Regions from separate parts of the Homo sapiens genome. Here all the other regions are linked to region 1. The links are contacts of gene promoters, found by promoter capture Hi-C in blood cells and fetal thymus (Javierre and others, 2016). All regions are on one chromosome and are shown on one strand. Each heading gives the region's core, a stretch centred on a gene start or on the middle of the fragment in contact. The rest is flanking DNA. Distances are from core to core; before and after follow the strand shown.

The links. Contacts are between HindIII fragments. The CHiCAGO score rates a contact against its expected background, and 5 or more counts as called.
Region 2: a fragment that was not itself captured here is called in contact with the fragment with the promoter of ATP1A1 in region 1 in 1 of 17 cell types (activated CD4 T cells); the score reaches 6.8 in activated CD4 T cells.
Region 3: a fragment that was not itself captured here is called in contact with the fragment with the promoter of ATP1A1 in region 1 in 1 of 17 cell types (activated CD4 T cells); the score reaches 6.8 in activated CD4 T cells.

The regions. Positions count from the first base shown.
Region 1 is chr1:116,371,984-116,376,308 of GRCh38, reverse strand. ATP1A1 (ATPase Na+/K+ transporting subunit alpha 1) reads right to left here and starts at 3,065. Exons shown (of 23, transcript NM_000701.8): 1 at 2,786-3,065. The coding sequence starts at 2,797. RefSeq lists an enhancer at 1,689-1,808 and silencers at 2,179-2,478, 2,909-3,438. The HindIII fragment of the contact is 4,966 bases long and covers 1-4,325 here.
Region 2 is chr1:115,100,454-115,105,088 of GRCh38, reverse strand. LINC01765 (long intergenic non-protein coding RNA 1765) reads right to left here. Exons shown (of 2, transcript XR_947722.3): 2 at 2,408-2,841. Among named protein-coding and RNA genes, the nearest start is that of LINC01765, 3.1 kb to the right of the region's middle. The HindIII fragment of the contact is 6,588 bases long and covers 92-4,635 here.
Region 3 is chr1:117,667,081-117,671,850 of GRCh38, reverse strand. No RefSeq gene overlaps it. Among named protein-coding and RNA genes, the nearest start is that of TENT5C, 63 kb to the right of the region's middle. The HindIII fragment of the contact is 5,640 bases long and covers 1-4,420 here.

The DNA of each region.
Region 1 (4,325 bases), core at 1,816-4,315:
TTCTGCTGACATGTGCATCCCCCCTGCCACCTTCACTGGAACCTTTTTTCCCTGCCCTTCCTTAAATCACTACTCATAAGCTATGATTTATTTTTTCGGTAAATAATATTCAAACTAAATCCGGAATGCAGTGAAAGACCTGGTGAGACCCCCCCTCCTCATCTTTTACACACTTGAGAAGACAAACTTTCCCACATTTCTAAACAGTTATGGCGTGTACCTTTGGTGAGTGAAACAGTTGCCGGTGGTAGGCCTAGCTGACGGTTTAAGCCAAGTCACTGGCAATAAAACCCAGAAAGAAAAAAAGGGACAAAATCCTATTTCATCCAGGAATGATTCAGCAAGAGCTGTTCTTTCATTTTCTTACCAAATGCTTAGGAACTAGACTTTTAAGGACATATAAAATCACCTGAAATATCATCAAAAGCTAGGCCACAAAGGGTACTGAGGAGAGGAGGGGAAGAAATTTACAATGACCTTAAAAATTAGCTGCCGGCACAGGCTTCCTTGTTAGCCAATTATCAGCAGGGCTTTAGTCACTCTCCACCCACATTTTAATCCCCATGTGGAAAAATCCCAACATGAAATATTCTTCTGAACATTTGGACGCTCACAATAAGTCACAGGACAAACACACACACAAACACACACACAAGTAAACTAATGTTTAATGTATCAGAATACTCAAAATGCTAACTACCACCCAGCAGCCAAGCAGCTCATCATCCCAGTGTTCGCAGCTGTAATTTAATCTTGTGTTTGCTAGCCACTATACATTTTGTTGTAAGACATCTGGGTTTAAGCTCTACTAACTATTCAGGTGGGTTACCACCGCATCACTACTGTGCATGTGTGCCTGTGTGTGGTTATAAAGGAGACATCTAGATAAATGGACATAACTTAGTTACCCAAACCATCTCCATGGCCTATTAATTCAACATCACAAATACCCCGTTTCATCCGAAGTTCTGAGTTCTGTATAAAGAACTCAATGTTAAAGAGTAAATGCATGTTCAGGCTTGAGGCCACAGGCTGTTCAAGAATCAGGGACGCCTAGTCTGTCACTAGCCAACCGTTTGACCTTGAGCAAGTCACTTCACCTTCCTAGGCTTGGGGCACACATCTGTGATGTCTAAACCCCCCAAAATTAGCTCAGGAAGTAAACTTTTTTCTTTTTCTTTTAAGGCAGGAGAGACAAAGAATGAGCTTTAAAGTGCATGTTTACAGAAATGATCAAGGGTTTGACGGTGTGGTAAAAGCACAGGCCACTAACCCAGACTCCATCAGGGGAATGGAGAGGCCCTGTACTCCGCTCTTTGATGCCACCTGACCTGGACCAGCCCTCCACGCTGCATGCTTTTAAAAGCGAGGCGAGTTGTGCATTTCCACTTGTGCCTGTTCTCCCCACCAGGTCCAAGCCTTTCAATTACCTCCTTTAAAACTCCCTTAGAGTCCCCAAGGAGTGCAGCCTCCCTCTGCTCCCGACACTCTGTCTACACCCAGAAGCCTCAGGGCCTTCAAAGACCTACTCAGTGTCTGCACTGTGCTAAACCCTGGAGACAACGAAGTGGATTCTCTCCCATTTGTATTCTCATGACATGGTCACTTTCACCCCATGAACTCCGAGGTTATTCTGTGTAAATTTTTCTCAACTAGACTTTGGCTCATTTGGGGTCCAGGGCCCAGTCTCCTGCACGGGTAATAGCTAGGGGTAATCAAGTCTTCGCTACAGAAATGTAGGACAGCGGCGTTGTGACGATATTCCCACCACGCTCCGCGCCGCTCTCCAGCCCCAAGACCCCTCGTTTCCTTCAGGGACCGCCCTTTGGTGCTTCCGCGACGCTGGAAACCGGCAGAGATTCCTACCACCGTATTGCCTGCAGCCTCCAGTCCTTTTTCGGGTTTCTTGTACCCTGAGGCCCTGGTGGGTCTGCCTATCCTCCTTCAGGGCTCGTCCCTTCAAAAAAAATCTGCACGCCTCTCCCCACCATCGGATGACAACTCCAGTTGCCATCGGTGCATCCTGTGTTTACGGAAAGTGGCCCAAGAAAGCCCTCAAAAGTATACCTTAAAGGCCATCTTAGGGCAGTGAAGACACACCCTTTCTGGCACCAGCCCGCCCAGCCGGCTTCGCACTTAGAAGCAGCCAGTTTTTTCTTTGGGGGAGGGCGGCCGCCTCTGCGCGGAGCAAGCTAAGCCCCAGCGTCCCCAGGAGAAGGAGCCCCGAACCCGGAGGCTGCCCCCGCCGGAACCGGGGCCGCGGCGGGAACGGAGGCCCGGGAGGAGGCCCCGGCGGAGCGCCCCAGGGGAAGGGGAGGAGCGCGCCTTTCCTCAGGGCACGGAGGGCGGAGGGAAAAGGAAGGAGAAGGAGGTGACGGCGGTCGCAGGGAGGGGAGCCAGGCTCAGGGATGCCGGCTCAGTCCCGGGGCCGCCCCCGCTGCTGCAAGCCCCCTCCTCCCGGCCCCGAGGCTTCCCAAGCACCGCCTCTCGGAGCCCCCGGCCCGCTCGGCCTCCGGGGCGCGCAGCCCCCGCCCAGGGTCCGCCCACCCCCCTAAGCAATGCCGCGCTCCAGCCCCTCGGCGCTCCCTTCCCCCGCCCCCCGTTACTGCGCTCCCTCCATTTCCAAACTGCGTCGTCTTTTAAGCCGCGCGGCTCTGCCAGCCCACTCCACGCGGCGCCGCTTCCTCCTCCGCCGCCTCCCGCTGGCCGCGGTCGCCCTCCCGACTTCCTCCTCTTCCCCTCGAGGGCTCCCCGAGCCCCCTCCCCGGGCGCGCCGGACACTCACCCCCTTCCCCATGGTGGCGGTGCTCAGTGCCCGGCGCCGGGTCCTGTCGCTGGAGAATCAGAGAGAAAAGCACAGAGCAGCTCCCGGCCGAGCGAGCGGGACCAGGGGAGCCAAGTGGAGGGAGCTAGGGCTGCCGCGGGGCGGGAGGGTGGGAGGGCGGCCGGCGGCTCGGGCCGATGCCGCCGCCGCTGTTGCTGCCGCCGCCCGGGCTGCTACCGCTGTTGCCACGTGTCCGCCTCCTCCCGCCGCTGCTCTGCGCCCCAGACCCCGCCGCAGCTCCAGCCCGCGCCTCCTCCTCACTTCCTAAAATATGCAACCTGCGTGCTGGCCCCGCCCACGCCGCGAAACGTCACCGTTACCGGAGCAACCTGACACCGGCCGTGGGCCTGGCTCCGCCCCCTCCCGAAACCCCGCCCACGGGCCCGGACAGCGCCTGCTGCGGCCAGTCCTGGCTCCCGGCAGGAGGGCGCCCAGGTCTGGGACAAGCGTGTCCACCGTGTCCCGGGAGGGCTGCGGGGCGCTCCTGCTGGCTGAACAGCGGGGACTCGGCGGCCTTGGCCCTCCCACGCCCCTCCTCCCGCTGCCCTGCATGACCCGCCTACTATGTAGGGCCCAGGAGGTCCGCAGTGGGTGCGGTACGGTCTCGGAACTGGGCTCCCCCAGTCGCCGCCGACCCGGCACCAGAAGTCGTGGGCGGAACGGCTTTTCCAGCGCTTCGGCGATCTCCTCTGGGACTCAGGGATGCTGGAGGGGGCTGGCGCTCGGGTGTGATTGCAGCCAGCGCCTGACTGAGGGACTCCGCCCCTCTGTGGAATCCAGGCCCCGCGCCCACCTGCGGATGGCCTCCCCGGGCGCTTGGTGCTCTCAGAGTGCCTCCTGTGACTTGGGGTCCTCTTTATCCACTTCCCGCTCCGTCATAGCTGGAATCGATCTGAACTGGCATCGCCAGAAGTTTCAAGCGCCCTCCTCCCACCACCTCTCTTTCTTCGAGATTCCAAAATGAGAATCTGAAGGGCGACCAGCGAATTCATTCACGCTATTGTGTGAATGTAACCTGCTTGTCCAGTTTGGGGATTCTCTTTTTAGGGAAGAAAAACCTGAAACCCAAAGGAATGCGTATCCTTAGCTAGAGGAGCTAAATCAAGGGGGAGGCGTTTGAGGACTTGCCAGGTGCCTCTCCACGCCTCCACCTGTCACGGCAGCATCTCCAGCACAGCCTTGGGTTCTCTGGGGGGGCCCAGGAAACCACCACTCTCCCCGGAGATCCCTGGTTCCACTGCACTTTGGGGCTTCTCTGTCATTATAGCTTTTGCTTCTTAGCAAGAGGCTGCAATGGCTGAAGTTCTCCAACATTTTAAAAAACAAAGTATTATTAACAAGGTTTGCAGGAAGTCAAGTACTCTGGGAAAGGCCAGGATATTGACTTTCTAAGCAAAGGTTCCTAAGTTAAAGCCAACTCTATCAACTTCAAGTATTCATGTAGCATGAACAAACAAGGATATGAAACTGGAAAAAATGGAGAAGGAAGGAAAGAAAGGAA
Region 2 (4,635 bases), core at 2,136-4,635, 1.3 Mb after region 1:
GCCACTGTGCTCAAAATCCAGGAGAGAGAACTGAACCCCAAGGAGAGTAGGAGCAAGAACCCAGGACAAGATGCCAAATCCAAGGGAAGCTTCAAACCACCAGGAGCTAAGGAGGCAATGAGCCTGTGACAGATGAATCTCACTCAGGGCTTACATAACTGATCTGGACATGGGGCACCCCAGGAATTCCCCACATCAGCAAGTGATGGTAAATTTGACTGACAGTTACCTATTTTCTGCTAAATTCCTAAAAGATCTTTAGAGCTGGGTGAGGAAGAAAAAATAGAGTCAATGAGATTCAATGTGAGTAGATGAAAATGAAAGTTTTTCATTATACACATCTAAGATGATGAGCTTTCATGAGTTGATAGAACCCTCATGAGAAATCTGGACACCCAGGACCTGGCCCCATCTTAAGTACTAACTAAAACATAACCTCTTTGGGCCTCAGTTTCCCCAGCTGTTTGATGAAATGATTGATCTTTGGGATCTTTTCAAGAGCTTATATTCTCTTCAAAGGAGTTTTAAAAGGCTTTCTAGTTGATTCTCTCAAGGAACCATCCCTAAACTTCACTAAGCTACTAGATATCATATGTGTCAGTCAAGTGGCATTTGCCAGAGTTCCTCAGTCAAACTTCCCCCTTAATATTATTTTTAAACCTATTAAGCCTCCATTCCATATTTGGTGGTATAACTTGTGCTTCTCCTCATCACCAGATCCTGCGGAAATTTCAGTACATCTTTCCTCATCACCTGTTGCTCTAATTTCTACAGATGCTTCTATTGCAACTAGCAGAAAGCCAACTCAAACTGGCTTGAAAAATAAAGGAAATTCATTGGTTCATATAACTGAAAGGTGTAGTAATTAGAAAATTTCAGGCATGATCTAATCAAACTGGATTTCATTCCATAATTCTCTTGGCTCTGCCCCTTCCCTTGTACACAATTTGTCTTCAGACTGGGTTCCTCGTAGTAGCAAAATGGCTGCAGCACTTCTAGGTCATACATGTGTTTAATACTGAGCAAGAGTCCAGAACCTCAGTCTGATTGAATCAATGTAGGTTATATAGCCATCCAAGGCCAGGGAAATGGGATTATGATGAATGGCTTAGGGCAATCAGGGCTTATCCCTGAAGGTGGTTGGGATCTACCCAACTCAAAACATATGGCTGCTACACCGTAAGACATGGTGGAGGTAACCAGCATTTTCACACTGCAGTTGAGGTTATAAACTCTGTTCTGCCCCTCACCTCCTGCAGTATTCTCTCTGCCCTGTAGCAACACAAGGAAGAAGGCAACTGTCCTTTCCTTTGAATCCTCCAGAGAAAACACCACTCTCACAGGCATTGTGGGTCAGATTCACAACAGGGCAGGTAGTTACAGAGCAGCACAGCTCAGCACATATTTTTCAATGTAACATCCAGCATCTTGTTTCTTAAAGGTTCCTGACTATCTCTGTAACTGGTATTTTCTCACTGACACTGTTTTAATCTTGGGGTCTAAGCTACCACTTTGTTGTTGACTTTAATCTACATTTCCCTGGTTTCTGGGATTCAGAACATTATCGTATGTTTATTGTCCAGGTGGATTTACTCTTTTGCAAAATACTCTTTCAAGTCTTTTTGCTCATTTTTATGTGCAACAGGTACATATAAAAGGTGGATGGACTTTTATATAAAATGTAAAATAATCTGTCTTTTCTTAATTCTGTGTAGGAATTTTTAAAATATTCTCGATACTGGTTTTTTGTTGAATGGTTGCAAATATCATCTTCCATTTTATGGCAAGCCTCTTTACTCTCTTAACAGTATTTTCTGATAAATGAGGATTCTTAATTTTAACATAAAAACTCTTTTTCTTTATGGTGAGCAGGTACTTTTGTGACTAGCTTAAAACACATTTGCCTATCTGGAAGTCATATAGATATTTTCCTATATTACCTTCTGATGTTAGTTTATTGCTGCCTAACAAATGTACCCAAAGCTCAATGATGGAAAACAAAAATTATTTTGTTCTCATTCAGGTGCCTGGGTCAGCTGGTCCAGGATGGGCTCACTTTATCTTGGCTGGGCTTGGCTCCAGGCTGGGTTTGGCTGGGGCAGCTTCACCAGAGAACTCTACCCATGTGTCTCTCATCTCCCTGTCAAGGTCAGTGGGCTGGATCAGGCATATCCTTCTCATGGGGATGGCATAAGTGGAAGAGGGCAAGCAGAGATGTTCAAGGTCCCTTGAGGCCTAGGCCCAGAATGGCACACTGTCACTTCCACCAAAGGACTTAAGCCAAACATAGAGTCCAGGGAGGAAAAACATAATCTGCCCCTTTTATGAGAGGAACTGCAAAGTCACCTGGGAAAGGGCATGGGCACAGGGAGGAGAGAAGAATCGGGGCCAAAAAAGCAATAAACAATATTCTCTATAAACTTTATATTAATAGTTTTACCTTCCATTTAAGTATATACCCCAAATGGAGTTGATTTTTGTGTGTGATGTGAGATTAGGGTTAATTGTTTTTACATGGGGATACCCAGTTGCCCTAGTGTCATTCTTTGAGGACATTTTCCCACAGTGCATAGCAGTGGTACTTTCATCATAAACAAACTGTCCACATACACAAAAGTCAGTCTCTGGGCTCTTTTTCCTTTTAGTTTTTTTTTTTTTTTTTCTCTCCCAGTGCCGATACTACACTGTCCTAAATACTGTAGTTGCTTATAAATCTTGATATCTAGTAGAGCGAGTTCAGCCCACTTTGTTCTTCTTCAGTGATGTTTCAGCTATTCTTGATCCTTTGAATTTCCATATAAATTTTTCAGCATCATCTTGTCACATGCTGCCATGAAAAACCTACAAAAAATATCTTTGTGAAGATTTTTTATTGTAAATGCTTTGAATCTATACATCAAATTGGAGAGAATTGACATTTTTTAAATGTCGGTTTTGCTAATTCAAACTTAGCATATCTCTCCATTCATTAACAGCTTCCTTAACATTACCCAACAAAGACTTTAATTTTTCCCTGTAAAGTTCTTACATGTCTTTTCTAGAGAATAGATACTTCTTATGCTATTTTAAGCTATGTTCTTTTAAATTTTAGTTTCTGATTCATTACTGATCTAATGAAAAGATATTCTCACATTTATTTTTATCATCAGAAAATTTAATAAGCGCTCTTATTAATTCTAGTAACCTATTATTTTATGTAGAAAATCAAAATAAACACACAATTAGATCATCTGCAAATAATGACAACTTTCTTTCTTTCTTTCTAAGCCTTATACATTTAATTTCTCTTATTGAGCTCTCTGGTACAGTGATGAGTAGAAGTAGTGATAGCAGGAATGTGTCTTGTCACCAAAATGTTATCTTGTAGCAATGAATTCCCATCTATACCTAGTTGCCTAGAATCTTTACAACAAATCGATGTTGAATTATCAAAAGATTTTTCTGTATCTACTGAGATGACCACAGATTTTTCTCCTTTATTAATGTGGTAGGTTATACTGATTGAAATGTAAATCAACATTGTATTCCTGCCCTATACAGTCATGATGTATTAGGCTTTCTATGTATTAATGCATACCTTTTTAAATTTGGGAGAGTATATAGTAGGTGTATATATTTATGGTGTACATGAGATGTTTTGATACAGGCATGCAATGTGAAATAAGCACATCATGGAGAAGGGGGTGTCCATCCCCTCAAGCATTTGTTCTTTGAGTTAGAAACGATCCAGTTACACTCTTTATTTTAAAATGTACAATTAAGTTATTATTGACTATAGTCACCCTATTGTACTATCAAATAGTAGGTCTTCTTCATTCTTTCTATATTTTTTTGTACTTATTAACTATTCCTACCTTCCCCTCCAACTCCCCACTCCCTTTCCCAGCCTCTGGTAACTATCCTCCTACTCTATAGGTCCATGAGTTCAATTGTTTTCATTTTTAGATCCCACAAATAAGTGAGATATTACTATTTTGTTGACTATTATTTTGCTGAAGATTTTTGCATCTATGTTCATAAGTGAAATTGACCTATAATTTTCCTTTTCATTACTGTCCTGTCTTTTTCAGGTTTAGGTTTCGAGATCTTGCTACAAGTCTCATAATTTTAGTATTTTTTAAATGCTCCCTCTTTTTCTACTCTCTGGTAGAGTTTGCATAAGATTGGAATTACTTCATACCTAAACGTTTGGCAGAACACACCACTGAAGGACAATCTGGGCTGGACTTTTTTGTTTTTGTGAAAAGATCATATACAATTTTTTAATGCTTACAAGGCTATTCAAACTTCTAATTTTCATTGAGTGCATTCTGATGTTACTTTTCAAAGGAATCAGTCCATTTTACCTACCTTTCAAATTTATTTGCAGTTGTTTATATTATCCTATTATTATCTAAATCTCTGCAGATCTGGAGTTATTAATCTTTTTTTTTTCCTGACATTGGTTATTTGTGCAATCTCTCTTTTTCTTGATTATTTTCAACAGAAGTTACTGATATATTTAGGTATAAATTTACCATCTCATTGTATGTTTTCAATTTAGTCTACCTGTTTTACATTTCTTTTGTTCTCTGTGATGGTTAATTTTACATGTCAACTTGACTAGGCCAGGGGGGCCCCAAATATTTGGTCAAA
Region 3 (4,770 bases), core at 351-2,850, 1.3 Mb before region 1:
ACTGGGCCCAGGCTCTGGTGTGTATTTGGGCTGGCTGTCCTGGTGTCTGAGAGCACAGTCTTCCCCTCCCTATATTCTCCTCACTGCTCACCCTGCTCTCTGCCACTGCTGGAAAAGCAGCATTTCAGAAGGCATTTTAGAAATCTAGACCCAGTTGGTCCTGATCCACTCATGTGTCAGAACCCAGAGTTCAACCACTGTTGGGAGGTTTCAGCACGCAATTCTGTGAATCCTAACCCTGGGCCCAGGGCGTTCGGCCTGAGGTGTGACCTGTCTCTGACTGTTCCAGGAGATTTCTCCTGGTCAGGGGGACCTGAGATATAACCAGAGCACACTGAGGCATGAGGTGCCGTGGCAGCATCGTGCAGCGCCGTGTGGGCAAAGCATTGAGGAAGGCTCTCAGGCCAGCAGAGCTTTCTGAAAGGGACTTTGCCTTGGACTCTGATTTAAAGCCTCTCCTCCTGGACCAGTATTATAACAACCATCCATTCCTGTTCTTCGGGTTTGATGAGAATGGAAGAAAAAGAATGAAGGGAGAGAAGTGAAAGTCTCTGGGTTTTCATTGCCGCTGTGTCGTTTATGAGCTACGTGACCCTGGGCCAGTCCCTTCCCCCTCTGGCTTCTTTTTCCTCATTTGTTAAATGAAAGGGTGGTCCGAATGACTCTGCTGATCCTTCCCTTCCTGAGACTCTCTGACTCACGGGAACTCGAGAAAGTCCTGCCCCACACCCAAAGGCCCAAGACTTTCCCTTTGAGTGGCTTCCCTCTGTGGCATTGATCTCAGAATATTTAACCACAGGAGTCCTTGCCCCTTGAGTGTGGAGCTGAAGGATGAGCGCCACTTAACAGAGCAGGAAAACCATCCTATAAAGAGAAACAGGAGAGACTCCTTACTTTTTACCTACTCTCATCATTTCAAAAAGAGCACGCAGCTCCTGGTGGCACCAAGATACCGAAACTAAACCAGCGTTATCTGTGGGGCATAAGATTTATTTTTATTGTATATCAAGGGCTTCAGAAAAGAAACAACTTAGCTTTTTGATACTGAGGAAATTCTGTATCTAATTGTAGGTGCTATTTTCCCCTCATTCTTATCAGTGAAACTCTTTTTGGTACACAGAGTATAAGTTGCACTTTGATGCAGACATGTTCTTCCTATCCATGCTTCATTGCACTGAATGCATCTCACACTGCCCTTGGCCAGGAGCCCTTGTGCAGGGCACAGCCTGCATCACTGTCTATGGCAGCCCTGGTTCGTAGGGTGGCCTGTCTCATGCTTTCTTTAAACAAAAGTCTAACTTCCCTTTTCTTACATCTTGGCCCTGGTAGCTGAGACAGAAAACTTTAAGAGTTTAATTCCTAGCTAGGCGTGGTGGCTCACGCCTGTAATCCCAGCACTTTGGGAGGCCGAGGCAGACGGATCACCTGAGGTCAAGAGGTTGAGACCAGCCTGATCAATATGGTGAAACCCTGTCTCTACTAAAAATACAGAAATCAGCTGAGTGTGGTGGCGCATGCCTGTAGTCCCAACTACTCGGGAGGCTGAGACAGGAGAATTGCTTGAACCTGGGAGGTGGAGCTTGCAGTGAGCTGTGATCACACCACTGCACTCCAGCATGGGCGACAGAACAAGACTCCATCTTAAAAAAAAAAAAAAGAGTTTAATTCCTCAGTTTAAGTGGCTCATTTAAGATGCATGGTCATCCTCTGCCCACCCACCATCAGAGGCAGAAAAGAAATAGTCTTTGCAAAGAACACGACCACATCCACAGAAAAGCAGCTCTTTCTGTAATGCCTGGACTTACCTAGATCTGAAACCTCTTTTCCTTCTTTCCCTCTACCTCTATCCTGAGCACCATGTATCAGTCAGCTTCTGCTGCAAAGTTCCCAGGTGAAAAGTCATCTGTACCTCAATGACATACAATAATAAACTTTACCACTTCTGTGCTTCGGGTCAGTCAGGCAGCTTTGCTGATTTGGGCTGGACACATCACGTGTGAGGGGCTGCGGGCTGTTGGCTGATCTAGGCCACCCTTGGCAGAGGCAGCTGGGGAGATCGCGCACTGCTCCCTGGTCTCTCACCTCCAACAGGCTGGCTCGGGTGCATTTTCATATCTATGACAGAGGCTCAAGAGAGAGCCCTGGAAACGCTCAATGCCCCTTGAGGCCTAGGCTCAGAACTGGCACACTGACCCTTTGCTTCATTCTGCATGCCAAAGCAAGCCCTGCAGAGTAGGGAAATAAATACTGTGCTTTTATGGGAAGAACTCCAAAGTTACATGGCAAACGGCTTGCAGACAGGGAAGGGTAAAAAATTGAGGACATGAATGCTCTCAGCCTCCCGTGTCCCCATCCCCTCCTATGTGTTTTCCAGTCAGAAGACCTCTCCCCTGTATCTTCCACTGCTCCCTCTGTACTTGGTCAGACCCAAAACCAATGTATGTTTAATTCTTTCCTATCTTAAGAAAAAAGTATTACATAGCCCCCTTAAGCATTTATCATCCTGTATCTCCTTCCTTTCTTCTTTAGATAATTTATTCTAAGAATATAAAACATAGATGTATATAAGAAGAATATAAAATACAGAAGCATTGTTCCTAACAGTGTAACTGGAAGTAATGGAAACATCAGAAGCGGGGGACAAACTTAGCCAACTGCTACTTGAGGTGGGTGAATGTTCATTATGTAGACCTTATAAATGATTTATGCAATAATGTTTAAAAAGCTGCATGAGATAAAGTTAATTCAAGAAATAAGATATGGACCACACATATAAGCCCATTATAACTCTGTTAGCAAAAAGCTCTACCATGTAAAACTGGTGGAATCTGAATAAGATCTGGGGATTGGACCAATGTCACTTCCCTGGCTTTGAGGCTGTATTATACACATGTAAGATGTCCCCATTGGGGAAAATTGAGTGAAGGGTACACAGGACATCTCTGTACTGTTCTTGCAGCTTTCTGTGAATTTATAATCATTTCAAAATAAAAAGTTTTTTTCAATCCCCAAAACTTACAGAGAAAGAAGTTTAAAAAAATAGTTACATTATGTGATAGAAATATGAGTGATTTTCTATTTTGTCTAAATTTTTCATTTTTTAAAAGTTATCATGCAAGGGAGAAACCTTTTTTTTCTTTTCTTTTTTTCTTTTTCTTTTTCTTTTTTTTTTTTTTTTTTTTTTTTTTGAGACAGGGTCTTGCTCTGTTGCCCAGACTGGAGTTCAGTGATGATCATGGCTCACTGCAGACTCAACCTGCCAGGACCCCAAATAGTTAAGCCTTCAGACACACACCACCATGCTCACATAGATGTTGGGGGTCTCTCTATGTTGCCCGGACTGGTCTCAAATGCTTGGCCTCAAGTGATCTTCCTACCTCAGCCTCCCAAAGTGCTGGGATTACAGGCATAAGCCACTGCATCTGGCCAACTTCCCACTGTATTTTTTAAGAAAGAAATCCTAGATTCCCTCAGCCAGCTCTGAGCTCACTGTCCCTGGGCACAGGGCCTCTCATGGCCTCCCACTGTGGCCATTTTTAAAACTTCCCTTGGCCATCTGCTTGCCAGAGAACGCACTTCTTGAGGACAGGAGCTATATCTTAGTCACCTTTGTGCATCTCCTCTTCTCCCCTCTTACAAAACTTACTCATATTGAACAAATGTGTATTGAACCAAAAAATCTGCTGGATACTGGTGATCAAAAACCAAATACATCAAGATACATGGAAGAGTTCAAGCCCATAGACAGATGCCTGTTTAATACAACACAATCAGCCAGGCCCAGCGGCTCACATCTGTGATCCCAGTACTTTAGAGGCCGAGGCAGGAGGATCACTTTAGCCCACAAGTGTGAGGTTGCAGTGAGCTATGATCACACCACTGCACTCCAGCCTGGGCCACAGAGGGAAGTTGTATCTCGAAAAAAACAAAAAATACAACACAGTCAAGCCACATAAAAGATGTGCAAGGGATAGTGGGAGTGCAAAGAAGGTACAGAGAAGGTGCCTTGGGTTGCAGGGAAGTCTTCATAGAGGAGATGACACGAGTTCACCAAGGGGTGAGTAGAAGTTGGGAGGAGGCCAAGTCAGAAGAGCATCTTCTAGACAAAAGGATGGCCTTGAACAAAAATGCAGAGAAATAGAAGAACACAGTGGGTGTTACAAACCCATCATCTTCATCCTGGGGATATTTTCCTGTTAAGAAAATATTTTCCAGCATAAACTCTGTTGAGCCAATTTATTTCCTTCATCAATTTTCTAATGCAAGGCAATTCAATAGTTTCCTATTTTTTTGACTTTCACTTTTATGTTATCAGAATTATTTTTGCCATCTATTCTTTTCTTCCTTTGGCATTGTATAGTACCAGTTTCACTGGTTGATCTGTTTGTTTTGTTCACACCAAATTGTACTGAATAAAGCTTTTTTCATGGTGATAGATGTACATAGGCCTTTAATTCTTCCAACTTTGACTTTCCTGGGTCAAATTTTATATCAATCAATATAGTCTAGAATCTTATTATTTTACACATCTTTTGGTTAAAAAACAATATTTTATCAAGTATACTTTTCGCCACTCTCACTTTTTTAAATTTCATTTTGATTATTCTACCAGCAAGATGCATTGTGAATTAGGTAGACTACTGAGCAGTTTTTGTTTCTTAGATTATCCGTGAGAAAATGCAGTGAATGTGTGAGACCCAGCAAGCCAGGCTGACAAATGGAGAGGAAATGCACAAGAGGTGACATGACTAAGAGAGACATGGAAAGGCG